Regions from separate parts of the Homo sapiens genome. Here region 1 is linked to region 2. Evidence: promoter capture Hi-C in human tissues and cell types (Jung and others, 2019). All regions are on one chromosome and are shown on one strand. The core of a region is centred on a gene start or on the middle of the fragment in contact, and the rest is flanking DNA. Distances in the headings are between cores, read along the strand shown. Region 1 overlaps LINC02608 (long intergenic non-protein coding RNA 2608). Region 2 holds the start of NEK2 (NIMA related kinase 2).

Region 1 (2,700 bases), core at 126-2,625, 580 kb before region 2:
GAAAAGGGTCATCTAGGTTCTTTGAGTACCAAAAAGCCTGAGAGGCATGATGGGCAGCAAAAGCCTTTCCCAGGCTAGATACTGACAGCTTTGAGCAAGGGTCTCAGGGTATAAAGGGTATGCTTGCTCCTTTGCCTCCTACAGTTATTCATGCCATCCCTGCACAGGACTACCGCAGGGCAAGATGTGACTGAGGCTTTTTGCCACTGCTTCTGCTCCAGTATCTGCCATCTAGATATGGAATGAAAAGATGGCCTTTGGAAGCAGTGGGCAAAATGAAAAAAACTTTAAAGTCTTTTAAGAGCATCCTATTAAATTGAATCAAAGTGACTAAGTAAAAAAATTTTGTTATTTTGCTCAATGCTCCCAACTAGACTTTTTTTCTATCCCAGGCTTATTTCCTTTCCTGTGGATAATAGTTGTTTCTTAGTTTTCCTTATAATTCCTGCTATTCTTTCTATCCCCTACCTTATTCCTGGGGGCAGATTCCTTTTCCTTCCATCCACCCCATATATTTGGACATTTCCCATGTTCTAAACTCAACCTTCATCTATTCTCACTAATAGACTCTCTTTGATAAACATCTACTTTTTTGGTTTCTTTTGAGACAGAGTTTCACTTCTGTTGCCCAGGCTGGAGCGCAATGGTACAATCTTGGCTCACCACAACCTCTGCCTCCCAGGTTCAAGCGATTCTTCTGCCTCAGCCTCCCGAGTAGCTTGGATTACAGGCATGCACCACCATGCTCAGCTAATTTTGTATTTTTAGTGGAGACGGGGTTTCTCCATGTTGGTCAGGCTGGTCTTGAACTCCCAACCTCAGGTGATCCCCTCAGCCTCCCAAAGTGCTGGGATTACAGGCATGAGCCACTACGCCCAGCCCATTATCTACTTTTATAGCTTCAACTTTCCACTCATATGTTCATGGCTCCCCAAAAAAATACCTCCAGCCCAGACCTCTTTCTTGAGCTCAGACCATCATGCCAACTTCCTGCTGGATGTCTCCACCCGATGACCCACAGGTACCTCCAACTCAGTACATCTAATCCAACTTATTTTCTCCATCCCAATACTTACTTCTTATCCCCTTGCTTTATATCCTATCCCTGTTTCTCCAAACTCAGTGATGGCATCAACATCTCTCGAGTTGTTCAAGCTTGAAATCATGGAGTTCTCTTCAATTATTCTCTTTTCCTCACCTACTCTCTTGAAATATCTGGATAATGCATAATCTTCTTGCAATCTCCCCTGCCTCTGACTTAGTTCCAATCCTTATCATCTCTTTCCTGAGTCACTGCAGTGTATTAATGATAGCTGCTATGTATTGAATGCTTACTCTGTGTCAGAAACAGTGCTCAAATCCTTATATACTATACTAACTACATCTGTTTTCTGCTGCTATAAAAGGATACCACAGGCTGGGTAGTTAATAAAGAAAAGAAATTTATTTGGTTCATGGTTCTGGAGGCTGGGAAGAGCAAGAGCATGGCACCAGCATCCAGCGAGGGCCTTGTGTTGCATTATCCCACGGCAGAAGGGCAAGAGAGTCTGTGAGACAAAGAGAAAGATGGGGCCTGAATTTATCCTTTTATCAGGAGCCTATTCCTGTGACAAATAGACCACTCCCATGGTAACAGCATTAATCTATTTATGAAGGTGGAGCCATAACTTAATCACCTTTTAATCACCTCTTAATCACCTATCTCTATGAGACCATCCTGAGCAACGTAGCAAGACCCTGTCTCTGCAAAAAAGAAATGTGAAAATTAGCCAGGTATGGTGATGTGCATCTGTGGTCCCAGTCTCAGTTGGGAGGCTGAGATGGGAGGATTGCTTGAACCTGGGAGGTCAAGGCTGCAATGAGCCATGACTACACCATTGCACTCCAGCCTGGTCAACGGAGTGAGTCCCCCATCTCAAATAAATAAAAAATAAAGGTTTTACCTCTTAAACTGTTTAATTGCAATTAAACAGATATTTTTGCCAACAGCAATCAAATTTGTTTTCAAGGGGTTATTCAAACCATACATATACCTTATATTTTTCCTTTTTGTTTGACTGTTTTATAATAAATATTATATCATAATTACTAATCAATGGGGTAACTATTATCATCCCCATTTTATAGGTGAGAAAACCAAAGGCTTAAAAATACTAAGTAACTGGCTGGGCGCAGTAGCTCGTGCCTGTAATCCCAGCCCTTTGGGAGGCCAAGGTGGGTGGATCACCTGAGGTCAGGAGTTCGAGACCAGCCTGGCCAACATGATGAAACCCCATCTCTACTTAAAAAATATAAAAATTAGCTGGGCGTGGTGGTGCACACCTGTAATCCCAGCTACTCAGGAGGCCGAGGCAGGAGAATCGCTTGAACCCGGGATGCGGAGGTTGCAGTGAGCCGAGATCACGCTATTGCACTCCAGCCTGGACAAGAGCAAGACTTTGTCTGAAAACAACAATGACAACAACAACTAAGCTTGCCCAAGATCTCCTGCTTTCTGGTAAGTTGTGGAGACAAGAGCCTGTGTTCTTAAACACTGCCATGTAGTGATGTGGTCCCAACGTTGGTGGCACTCTAGAATCACCTGGGGAGCTTTTAAAGACTACCATTTTCCCAGCCTCAACCCAGACTAACTGAATCAAAATCTCTGAGGGTTTGGCCTGCACCTGAGTATTTTTTTAAAACTTCTTTAGGTGATTGTCA
Region 2 (2,700 bases), core at 144-2,643:
GTGCCTTACATAACTTTTGAAACCTAAATTGGTCCTATTCCCCTGAGGTAAGACAGTGCCCTTGAATGTTAATTTAAAAATTCTCCTGGTTGGCAATTCCAATTATCTTATGTTATATTCAGGGCATGTAATAAGTCCCTTATTTTTACATAAAGAGCTTTTAAATTCTTATTAATAGAAAATCAGGTGTCTTTTAATCCTTTGCTGAACAGATATTTAAAGAAAACTGGCCTGTTCATGCATTTCCAAATTATTAGCTTTCTGGTAATTTACATATTCCTCTAACAAGCCCTGGATGGAGGCCTCTAAGTCCTCCTTCCCTGGTAAACATGGGGCTGTTCATTTGGCTGGGTAAGCTGAGAACGTTGGTGTGTGGGTGCGTAAAAGAGAATCTGTGTTCAATGAAGTATTGTCGATAGGGTTAATTGTGTATTTGGCACACATAAACGGGACAAGACGTGTAAAGTACTTGGTAGGAGAGCGACAGTATTTCTCCTTTTTTTTTTTTTTTTGGAGACTGGGTGTCACTCTGTCGCCCAGGCTGGAGTGCAGTGGCGCACGGCTCACTGTAACCTCTGCCTCCCAGGTTCAAGCAATTCCTCATGCCTCAGCCTCCCAAGAAGCTGGGATTACAGGCCTGCAACCCCATGCTCTGTTACTTTTTTTTTTTTTTTTTTCATTTTTAGTAGAGACGGGGTTTCGCCATGTTGGCCAGGCTGGTCTTGAACTCTTGGCCTCGAGCAATCCGCCCGCCTCGGCCTCCCAAAGTGCTAGGATTATAGGCGTGAGCCACAGCGCCCGGCCTAATTTTCGTATTTTCAGTAGAGACGAGGTTTGCCCTGTTGCCCAGGCTGGTCTGAACTCCTGGGCTCAAGCGACCCACCCACCTCGGCTTCCCAAAGTGCTAGGGTTACGGGCGAGCGTGAGTCACCGCGCCCACCCGGGAGTCTGTATTTCTAATTTGTATTCAGCTCTCAGCATATCCTCAACGTGACCCCACCCAGGTTCAGGGTACTGGAACCTGAGCGAGGAATGCGTGTGCCGGGGAGAGTAGGTAGTGTGAGGGGCCAGAGTGCAAAGGTCAGAAGGCATCTGGTGGAAGCGGTGTGCAAAGAAGCCTGAGGGGAGGACCTTAGATCTCGGTTACCTTGGCGATCTCTATCAGAGGGTTAGAGTTGCCGAGAGGCGCCAGCTGCCGCTTCCTCTCTCCCGCCCTCCGTTTGGCTTAGCTCGCCGGGTTCTCCCACAGGTTAAAAGCAGACGCCGACGCGGTTGCCTAGTGACACTTTTCCCAAAATGCCTAGGGTATTGTTGTGTTCTTCTTAGCCAATGAGAGAGGCGAAGCGGCCCACCGCCTGCCAATAGACTGCGAGATCAGGGCCCGCGACGGTTAAACGGGGCCCAAGGCAGGGGTGGCGGGTCAGTGCTGCTCGGGGGCTTCTCCATCCAGGTCCCTGGAGTTCCTGGTCCCTGGAGCTCCGCACTTGGCGGCGCAACCTGCGTGAGGCAGCGCGACTCTGGCGACTGGCCGGCCATGCCTTCCCGGGCTGAGGACTATGAAGTGTTGTACACCATTGGCACAGGCTCCTACGGCCGCTGCCAGAAGATCCGGAGGAAGAGTGATGGCAAGGTGAGCGTGGGACCTACCCTGCGCCTGCCCCTGCTTAGGTTTCGTCGCCTCGGGGCGAGCGCCCTGCGCCACCGAAGGGAACCGACAGGGCTGAGGAAATGGGTGCCCGGAAGACTAAACCGTCTTTCCTGGGTCTGCATCTGACAGCCTGTCCTGGGTGGCTTAAAGGATGGGAGACCGCTTCTTTTGATATATGTATTTCCATCTTTTCCCGTTTCTCTCCCCATTTCTCTCTTTCTCCTGCTTTGGCTTGCTAAGGACCTTCCATTGGTGACAGGTAACTAATTCCTGAGCTGTTTTTAGAGCTCTAAGAGTGGCCCTCTCAGGCACAAGAAAGGGGCAGGACTACCAGAACCCGAAGCTTTGTATCTGCAGTCAGACTCCCTCAAAATATCCATTATTAGGATTATTGGATTCATATTTCCCAATGTATATAGGTAGAACTTTTACAGAAAGTAACATTGGACAGGAAACTGCCTGGCTGCTGATGGAGGGATCTTTACCAAGGTGTCTCATCCTGGGAAAACACGACTGGGGTGGAATGGGGCAGGGACTTTGACCACCTTCACCCCAATTTTGACTATAGTACCTTTTAGCCAACTTCCCACTAACCAACTGAGGGTAGGGGTTGGGGGAGTCCTCATGTGCCTCATTCCCGTTTGTCTCCCCACAACATACATTTACTGCTTAGAACTGGAGGAAGATTATGGAAGTAAACTCACAGCTCCTTAAGTTCATTGAACTAAATTAGATAATGACCTTGATTGTAGGATATAATTAAAAGGGAGGTAATTTGTTAAATCTTGGAACTTTCATTCTTTGTTTTTGAGCATAATGAGTTCATTCATACCTTGGAAATTCTTATTTCAGATATTAGTTTGGAAAGAACTTGACTATGGCTCCATGACAGAAGCTGAGAAACAGATGCTTGTTTCTGAAGTGAATTTGCTTCGTGAACTGAAACATCCAAACATCGTTCGTTACTATGATCGGATTATTGACCGGACCAATACAACACTGTACATTGTAATGGAATATTGTGAAGGAGGGGATCTGGCTAGTGTAATTAC

What was found. The method cuts DNA at HindIII sites, captures the fragments that hold promoters and counts their contacts. A contact is called where the count stands out against the background at its distance.
Region 1: a fragment that was not itself captured here is called in contact with the fragment with the promoter of NEK2 in region 2 in 1 of the 25 tissues and cell types used here (stomach).

What each region holds. Positions count from the first base shown.
Region 1 is chr1:212,249,494-212,252,193 of GRCh38, reverse strand. The region is part of intron 1 of LINC02608 (long intergenic non-protein coding RNA 2608); the gene reads left to right. Among named protein-coding and RNA genes, the nearest start is that of LINC02608, 34 kb to the left of the region's middle. The HindIII fragment of the contact is 4,692 bases long and covers 1-2,700 here.
Region 2 is chr1:211,674,314-211,677,013 of GRCh38, reverse strand. NEK2 (NIMA related kinase 2) reads left to right here and starts at 1,393. Exons shown (of 8, transcript NM_002497.4): 1 at 1,393-1,630; 2 at 2,501-2,700. The coding sequence starts at 1,535. NEK2-DT (NEK2 divergent transcript) reads right to left here and starts at 1,252. Exons shown (of 4, transcript NR_148994.1): 1 at 1,148-1,252. RefSeq lists enhancers at 1,113-1,407, 1,430-1,689. The HindIII fragment of the contact is 6,262 bases long and covers 1-2,700 here.